Regions from separate parts of the Homo sapiens genome. Here regions 1 and 2 are each linked to region 3. The links are contacts of gene promoters, found by promoter capture Hi-C in human tissues and cell types (Jung and others, 2019). All regions are on one chromosome and are shown on one strand. Each heading gives the region's core, a stretch centred on a gene start or on the middle of the fragment in contact. The rest is flanking DNA. Distances are from core to core; before and after follow the strand shown.

The links. Contacts are between HindIII fragments. The study calls those that stand out against the background at their distance.
Region 1: a fragment that was not itself captured here is called in contact with the fragment with the promoter of DBNDD1 in region 3 in 1 of the 25 tissues and cell types used here (stomach).
Region 2: a fragment that was not itself captured here is called in contact with the fragment with the promoter of DBNDD1 in region 3 in 1 of the 25 tissues and cell types used here (lymphoblastoid cells).

Annotation. Positions count from the first base shown.
Region 1 is chr16:89,760,102-89,763,022 of GRCh38, forward strand. FANCA (FA complementation group A) reads right to left here. Exons shown (of 43, transcript NM_000135.4): 29 at 1,848-1,921. Among named protein-coding and RNA genes, the nearest start is that of ZNF276, 40 kb to the left of the region's middle. The HindIII fragment of the contact is 3,867 bases long and covers 1-2,921 here.
Region 2 is chr16:89,704,213-89,707,219 of GRCh38, forward strand. It overlaps VPS9D1 (VPS9 domain containing 1), which reads right to left. Exons shown (of 15, transcript NM_004913.3): 15 at 2,922-3,007. Among named protein-coding and RNA genes, the nearest start is that of SPATA2L, 4.0 kb to the left of the region's middle. RefSeq lists enhancers at 2,018-2,197, 2,175-2,675. The HindIII fragment of the contact is 7,089 bases long and covers 1-3,007 here.
Region 3 is chr16:90,017,831-90,020,803 of GRCh38, forward strand. It overlaps DBNDD1 (dysbindin domain containing 1), which reads right to left and starts at 1,626. Exons shown (of 4, transcript NM_001042610.3): 1 at 1,481-1,626. The coding sequence starts at 1,511. It also overlaps a transcript of DRC4 not described here. RefSeq lists silencers at 1,745-1,884, 2,631-2,925. The HindIII fragment of the contact is 9,907 bases long and covers 1-2,973 here.

The sequences.
Region 1 (2,921 bases), core at 422-2,921, 260 kb before region 3:
ATCCCGCAACACATCTCAACACAACTTCCACGCAGCGGTGACCTGATGCAGCATGACCTCATGCAGCAGACAAGCCCCTCCCTCTGACCTCCTCCTTAGACTCCACCCCAGAGAGCAGCCGGGAGGAGAAACGGGGGTGAGTGAAGGAAGCGCCTGCAGAGCGGGCTTGGCACGACCTGAACCATCAGCACGTGTTTTGCCGCAGGCAGCAGCGAGTTTTCTTTTTGTGGCCCCTATGTTTTCCTTTTCCTATTACTTCCATTGGTTTCATCCAGAATCTGATACCAGGATCCAGGTGCAGGCGACAGTGCTGCATGTGCCTGGAAGGCCCCTGATGGCCGGAAGGACGAGGAGCACAGGGTGGCTGTTGCCAACCCTCTCCTGAGTCTAGGTGTGGCAGGCACCCTGAGGCCCATATACCCACCAGGATACTCCATATCTGCAGTGACCACATTCCCCTCTCCCTGACCTCCACCCTAAACTCCACACCCTTAAACCCAACGGTCCTCTGGGCTCCCTACTCCTATGCCCAGAACAGCACATCTGGCCTCTCAAATAGTCTCAAATGGTCTCAGTCATCAGCCCTGGGACTCATGGGGGTTCACTGCTTCATTTACCCACTTCTTGGTGCCCCCAAGTCAAGGCTGGCATCACTCCTCAAAGTCTGCACCACCTGCTCCACACCAGCCTCTGCTCCTGCCTGGTCATTTCCTCTCACACGGCCCTGTCTGTTATCTCCAGGGCTCATTCCTACCTTTAATCCACTTCTGTATCTACCTGTGTGTTGCCAGGGCCTGGACACAGGTGTACAGCTCCCGGACAGCAGCCATAGCCCAGCCAGGGTAGGGTGAAGTCTAAGTGGGTGCCTTATACGTGCCACATCTGCCCTCATTGATACAAAGGTGCCATATGGGCAGGCTTGTTTATTCCCCTCTATACTCCCTGCTTCTAGAACACTCTAGAATTGTCTGCCACATGGTAGGAGCTCAGTAAATGTTTCTTAAATAAAGGAATAACAACCGAAATTGGGCAACCTGGCCAGGCGCGGTGGCTCACGCCTGTAATGCCAGCACTTTGGGAGGCCAAGGCAAGTGGATCACGAGGTCAGGAGATTGAGACCACCCTGGTTAACACGGTGAAACCCCGTCTCTACCAAAAATACAAAAAATTAGCTGGGTATGGTGGCGGGCGCCTGTAGTCCCAGCTACTCGGGAGGCTGAGCCAGGAGAATGGCGTGAACCCGGGAGGTGGAGGTTGCAGTGAGCCGAGATCGCGCCACTGCATTCCAGCCTGGGTGACAGAGCAAGACTCTGTCTCAGAAAAAAAAAAAAAAAAAGAAAAACAGAAATTGCCACCGCGTGGAAGCTTTACTTTCGCTTTTGCTTTAATAAATCTTGCCACCGAAAAAAAAAAAATTGAAATTGTGCTCAAAGATTAACAGGTAAACCAAACATTAAATTGAGGATAAAATGACGAAACATAGGCTTTAAGGCAATGTGGAAAACCGTGTAACATTTTAAAGGGAAGCTCCTTTTTCTTTTGAGATAGGGTCTCACTCCGTTGCACAGGCTAAAGTGCAGTGGTGTGATCTCAGCTCGCTGCAGCCTCTACCTCCCAGGCTCAAGCAATGCTCCTGCTCAGCTTCCCAAGTGGCTGTGATGACTGGAACGTGCCGCATGTCCGGCTAATTTCTTTTCTATTTTTTGTAGAAATGGAGTTTCCCCATGTTGCCCAGGCTGACCTCAAACTCCTGGATTCAAGAGATCTCCTGCCTCAGCCTCCCAAAGTGCTGGGATTATAGGTGTGAGCCATCATGCCTGGCCAGGGTAGCTCTTTTCAACACTTACCGTTCAGTATCTGAAAGAGCATCAGCTTCAGGTTGAATTTCCAGCTCCAGGTGTAACCAGTCTTGGTAAGTTAACTGAGAAAGAGAGCAAGCAATTCAATACAATGAGGACAGAACACACAATCCACCGACAGGTTTATAAACCAGTTTGTCATTTCATCTCATACGCAGTCCTCCATGTCCCTGTGTTATAATGAAATTGCAGCTGAGAGTTCCACAGGAAAGAAACCTTAGTTTTATCAAGAATGATTTCTTACAGGATTTCCCTAGCACAAAGATGTTAGTACTGTAATCCTTCTTTCTAAGTATAAAACGGCTATTTTAGTCTGGGCAACATAGTAAGACCTCATCTCATTTAAAAATTACCTGGGCACGGTGGCTCATGCCTGTAATCCCAGCACTTTGGGAGGCTGAGGCCAGCAGATTGCTTGAGCCTAGGAGTTTGACACCAGCCTAGGCAACATGGTGACACCCCGTCTCTACAAAAGATTTAAAAATCAGCCAGGTGTGGTGGCACATGTGTGTGGTCCCAGCCTCTTGGGAGGCTGAGGCAGGAGGATCTCTTGAGCCCAGGAGGTCAAGGCTGCAGTGAGTAACAGAGTGAGAACTATCTATAAAAAGGAAAAAAAAAAAAAAGAAAAAAGAAACTAACAAAACAACAACATTCTACAGCTATTCACAGTAGCATACCTTCATTTATTTTTGGAAACAGGTTCTGTTGCCCAGGCTGGAGTGTGTGCAGTGGTGCAATCGTAGCTCGCTGCAGACTCTGCCTCCTGAACTCCAGAATTCTCCCCCTCAGCCTCTCAGATGGCTGGGACTGCAGGTGCACATCACCATGACCAGCTAAGTTTTTTAAAAACATTTTTAGGAGGCCGAGCACGGTGGCTCATGCCTGTAATCCCAGCACTTTGGGAGGCCGAGGCAGGCAGATCACGAGGTCAGCAGATTGAGACCATCCTAGCTAACACGGTGAAACCCTGTTTCTACTAAAAATACGAAAAAAAAAAAAAAAAAGGGTTGGGCGTGGTGGCTCACACCTGTAATCCCAGCACTTTGGGAGGCCGAGGCGGGA
Region 2 (3,007 bases), core at 36-2,535, 310 kb before region 3:
CAAGACTCTATCTCAAAAAAAAAAAAAAAAAAAGGATGAGGTTGTTCTGGGTTGGCATGGGCCCTCAATCCAGTATGACTGCTGTCCTTATGAGGAGAGAGAAACTTAGATATGAACGCACAGGAGAGAAGACCGCTTAAAGACGGAGGCAGAGTGGAACGAGGGTGCCGTGAGCGAAGGTAACACAGCTGTGTTAGAGCCACCAGAAACTGGAGGCAAACAGAATTCTACCCTAAAGCCTCCAGAGGGAGTCAGCCCTGCTGACAGCTTGATTTTGACTTCAGGCCTGCAAGATGGTGAGAGAGAACATTTCTGTTGCTGTAAGCCACCCATTTTGTGGTCGTTTTGGCAGCCCCTGGCAACACATCCAGTCCTCACGTCGTCGTTCCGACAGCCCTGAATGAGGTCCCAGCCGACAGCTGGCACCAACCATAGACAGCAGACAGCTCTTCGGATGAATCCAACCCCTGGTCATTGGGTTACCACCTAGAAACAGCCTCCCATGATGCTGAGGAGCCATCTGGCTGATTTTTGTACTTTTTGTATTTTCAGCAGAGACAGGGCTTCACTATGTTGGCCAGGCTGGTCTCAAACTCCTGACCTCAGGTGATCCACCTACCTCGGCCTCCCACAGTGCTGGGATTGCAGGCGTGAGCCACGGTGCCCAGCCTAATTTTTAACTTTTTAGTAGAGAGGGGGGCCTTACTATGTTGCCCAGGCTGGTCTCAAACTCCTGGGCTCAAGTGATCCCCCCGCCTCAGCCTTCCGAAGTGCTGGGATTCCAGGTGTGAACCACCATGCCTGGCGTCTTGAGTATTTAAGCCCCTGAGTTGGGGTAGTTTGTTAGGCAGCGGTGGCTACGTGGGCTGTACACATTCACGGCTCCCTCCCTTCCTGCCCGGGGATGGACACTCCATGAGCTGCCGTGTGGATTCTCCGTCCTTCCCTGCCCTCCCGGGACAGACACTCCATTGCCTCCACTGCATATACATCCTCTAAAACCGGCAGCAGCCTTGCCAGGTCGGAGGTTCCGTCCACACTTACCTGGACTCCAGGACTGCACCTGGTCCCCTGGGGCCACTGCCGTGTCCACCCCACAGTGTGCGTGAGCTCCCTCCCCCTCCTGTACTCAGCATCGTCCAGCTTCCTCATCTTCTCCGGTCCAATGGATATAAGGTTACATCTTGTTTACTTTTCATTTGATTTTTGTTATGATTTGGACACTGCTTATGCAGAATAGTTTTATTTTTATTTTTTTTTAGATGGAGTCTCGCTCTGTGCTCAGGCTGGAGTACAATGGCGTGATCTCGGCTCACTGCAGCCTCTGCCTCTCAGGTTCAAACAATTCTCCGGCCTCAGCCTCCTGAGTAACTGGGACTACCGCCACCACGCTCAGCTAATTTATGTATTTTTAGTAGAGACGGGGTTTCGCCATGTTGGCCGGGCTGGTCTCGAACTCCTGACCTCAAAAGAGCCGTCCGCCTCGGCTTCCCAAACCGCTGGGGTTACAGGCATGAGCCACTGCGCCCAGCCATTACTTTTTATTTTATTTTTATTTTTTGAGACGGAGTTTCTCTCTGTCGTCCAGGCTGGAGTGCAGTGGCACGATCTCAGCTCACTGCAACCTCTGCCTCTCAGGTTCACGCCATTCTCCCGCCTCAGCCTCCCGAGTAGCTGGGACTACAGGTGCGGGCCACCACGCCCGGCTGATTTTTTGTATTTTTAGTAGAGACGGGGTTTCACCGTGTTAGCCAGGATGGTCTTGATCTCCTGACCTCGTGATCCGCCCACCTCGGCCTCCCAAAGTGCTGGGATTACAGGCGTGAGCCACCGCGCCCGGCCATTTGTAGGATTTCTAAAAGGAAGCTGCTATTATTCATTCCTGTCTTATGGGGGAGCTGCAGGCTCAGCGAGGGCAAAGCTGCACAGCAAACAGCAGCACTTGAACATGTCTGCCGGGTCTCAGCGCCAGGGATACAGCTGAGCCAGGACGTTCCCGGCCCCCACAGTGTGCAGGCTGCAGGTGTGGCCCCGATGCCAAGCCAGCAGGGGCTCCCACGCCAGGATTTGTTCAAGACACAGCTCATCTCCACCATTCTATGAAGCGGACTTTAAAATCCCATCTTCTAGACACCAACGCTGAGGCCGGAGCAGCCCAAGCTCCAAGGCACCGTGGCCAGCTGGGGTTCGTATCGAGGGCTGGGGCAGATGCTCCAGCTCTGCCCCACCCAGAGAGACACTTCTGTCTCCCTATGGGGTCCTTGGCGGGTAAACCAGCCCCTGCTCAGGGTGCAAGCACAGAGCATCCCACCGAGGTCCACAGCTACTGCTTTTAAGACTGTTTCCCTGAGAACAGCAACACTGCCCCCCAGCCAGCTCCTGGTAGCATCTAGGGTTGGGACCTCCCACCCCACCAGCCCTGCCACCTGCCTCCTCATGGCATCTCAAGGTGCCAGGGGTGCCTTTCTTGCAGAAGAGCCCTCCATCCTGATCTGCCCACACCGCCCTGGCAGATGCTGTCCACGCCCGGCAGCCTTCTGTGCACCTCAGAGCATGTGTGTGTCGCCATGCACAGAACGATGATTCCTGAGACCCTCGGGTGACTGCTCTGGGCTCAGGTCCCCAGTGATGACCTGGACCCCAGCCTCACCCCACCCTTCCCACCCACTGATGCCCTGCAGAGCTCTCCTGTCCAAGAGGGTGAAGCCCACACCTGCCTGGCCAGGCACAGCCCCAAGAGGACCCTGCTTCTATGCAGAGGGTCTCGGAGGCTGGCAGATGTTCAAGAGGTTGGGCCAGGCTTGGTTTGGGGCTGGGCTGTGGCTCGTCCCCCACATCCTCAGCGGCCTCTGCCATGGGCAGCAGGGGTGGTTGTGCTGCCTGGCCAGTGGGGTGGGGATTGAGGGAGCCACACGGCGAAGCACAGCAGTGAGCTCTTTATTTTAGGCTGGGTGGGGGCAGCATGTGACAGTCAAGAGGGCTGACCCTTGGGCTGCACGGACCTAGA
Region 3 (2,973 bases), core at 376-2,875:
CCACTAACTCCCCACCCCAGGCAGGGTACTGCACAGAGCTGCGACCTGTAGGTAAATACCTGTGCACTGATTGAGTCAGGTGTCTGAAGCCCCCAGCCAGTGACTGATGGGCTCAGAAACTGAACCTGCTTTCTCTGCCTTTTAAGCTGCTGGGAAGTCCTCCTTTTTTCCCAAAGGAGGAGGGAAAACATATTAACCTCCACTCCCAAATGCCTTGGGCTCCCACAGCCCTGCAGGGGAAGCAGAACTGTCTCCACTGACAGAAATGGAAATTGAGGCTCACAGGGGCCTGACTGCCCACAGTTCACAGCTGGAAACAGCTCGGAGACCCCCAAGCCCTCACTCCCAACCTCCAGGCTTCCTATGTCCACAAAGCTGCTACTGGGAATACCCAGGAGCCTGGGACTATCAGTGTTAAGAAAGAGCTCTGGTCCCTCCCACAAATGACAAATCAAAACCCAAACCCACCAGCCCTGGGGCATTTGTCCCTATACCTTGGACTGCAGATACACAGGGTGGGTGGACCTGCTCCTCCCGGGGACAGCCCTTCGGGCTCCAGAGGATGCCACTGTGTGCGGCTGGGGGACTGAGAGGTTCCCATGTAGTTCCAGAGCGGCAGGCTGGCCTGCCTGTGCCCTCAGGCACCTGCTGGCTCCCTGGAATGGGAGCTCTAGGAAACCAGGAGGTGGTGGGCTTGGCTGGGCAGGTGGAGGAGTCTGCAGTTTGCATCCAAGTTCCTACCTAGGCAAATGGAACCCCGAAAGCCCTTTTGGAAAAGTCTCTGATCGGGAAGGGGGGAGGTTCTGAGAGCTTTCTTCCCGTTACCGACTCCAAGGTCCTGCAGTAGGGCCTCCACCATCAGGGCAGGGAGCGCTCCACGCGCACCTACCCTCCCCGATGAGCGTGCGCCTGGGCCACTCCCGGACCAGCCACCCTTGCAGCTCTGGAGTCCCCGGCAGGCCGCGCCCGTGCATGCCCCACATCCCCAAGACCCATCTCAGCCCCTCGCCCCTGGCAGGATCCCTGCCCGCGAGTCTACGGCCCTCGCCCCCCGGGACTCGCGGCTGGGCGAACAAAGCGGACGCGCTTGCAAGCGGCCAGCGTCGCCCTCACGCCCCACCGACAGGGACCCCAAACTCCAGCCCCGGAACCCCCCTCCCCCGCTCCCCGGGTCACCGGCTGGCTTGGCTGGGAGGGGGCTCAGGACGAAACTCCGGGCCACCCACCAAGGAGCGTGCCGGGCACGGCTTCCCGGGCCGGGAGCGCAGAGAACAAGGGGGCGGAGACTCGGTCCGTGTGCCCCCAGCCCCGCGCGGGGACCGCGCCCGGGAGGTGCCCCTGGCCCGCCGGACGACCCCGAGCTGCCAAAGGGGTCTTCGCGACTCCCGGGAGCGGCGAAGGGTGAGCCCTGGGGGGAGGGGCTGCGGCTCGCTGCGGGGAAGCGCTGCGCGGGGGTCTCGGGGGCTGGGGCTGAACTCACCTCCGGTGCCGGCGCCCTCCGGGGGCTCCATGCGGCCGGTGCGGTCTGGGAGGGGCACGGGCGACGGCGGCGTCGCCTGGCCCGGGCGCCCCAACAGCTGCGGCAGCGACTCGGCCCCGGCTCCGGGCGCAGCGCATCGGGGCAGCAACCGGGGGGCCGCGGCGGCAGGGAGGAGCCCGCGGGGCGGGGCGGGGCGCGCAGCTGCTCCCGGGCCCCGGCCCCCTCCCGGCGCCCCCCCAGCCGCAGGACAGGTGCGGCCCCGCCCCGGCCCGCGCGCGCCCCCTGCTGGCCCCTGGCCCAGCGGACCCCTCCCCCGCCGACCCTTCCCTCGCGGGCCGCGCCCCGCCGCGGACACCACCGGGACCTGGCTGCGCCCTCCCGACCCCGGCCGGGCGTCCGGGGCTCCTGCGCACTCACTTGGCGGCCGCGCCCGCTGGCGTCCTCTTGTTCTCTTCCAGGTACTTGCGTGTGGGGCGCCGACTGTGTGCGGGCGCCCCTCGGGGCTGGCGAGGGGCACAGGAGGGGCCTGACTCGCGCTGGGTAATGACAGACTCACAGAGCGCCCTGGATGGCGCGAATTAACGCGGGGGGCGGGTGGGGGCGAGGGCGTGTGCTTGGGAGGCTGGAAGGGGCGGGATGGGGGATGGGAGGTAAGGAGAGGGCGGCGGGCCCGGGCTGCAGAGAGCGCCAAGGCAGTTTCGATGAAACTGACCCCCATGTCCCTATCGCCCAGATTCAGCGATTGCCAGCTCCTGGCCTGGGCCACTGCTTCTCTGTCCTCATTCACTTCCCTCCACTGCTGGGTCATTTTGAAGCAAATTATATACACATTAGATCATTGCATTTGTAAGTACTTCAATATTTATCTCTCAAAGAAAGTCCGTTTGCAGGAGCATTGACTCATGCCTGTAATCCCAGCCCTTTGGGAGGCTGAGGTGGGAGCACAGCTTGAGCTCAGGAGTCCAAGGCTGCCGTGAGCTATGATTGTATGTCTCAAAAAAAAAAAAGAAAAGAAAAGAAAAGAAAAAGTCTAGTCTTCATAAACACTCTTGTTAACCCAGCATCCAGGCCTTCACTGAGTTGATGCCGTGGCCTGAGGCGGTTTACCTGGTGGATAGTGGGTGGCAGGAAGCATCAGACATCAGACAGAGGGCAGTCGGTTTGTTTGTATTAACATTTGCTCTGGGATTTTGCAGGAAACTCAGATGCCATTTATCTGGGTTTCTGAGCTGCACAGCTTGACACTGAATGAAAGTATCTTAAGCCACATATGTGAAGAAAAGGCTCTTTTCTAAAAATCTGAACTCGAATTCAATATGAAAAGAACAGGTCGCAGTGGGCCCTGTCGGGATCCCAGGGAGCCGCAATTCAGGGCTCCCTGAATGATTCATCTCTGCAGCCCACACCGACAGACCAGGATTGCTCTTAGCTTGTGAAAAATGAGTACCCTGTCTAGGCTATCCTGAGCTAACCCTCCTATTCTTGCCCTTTTT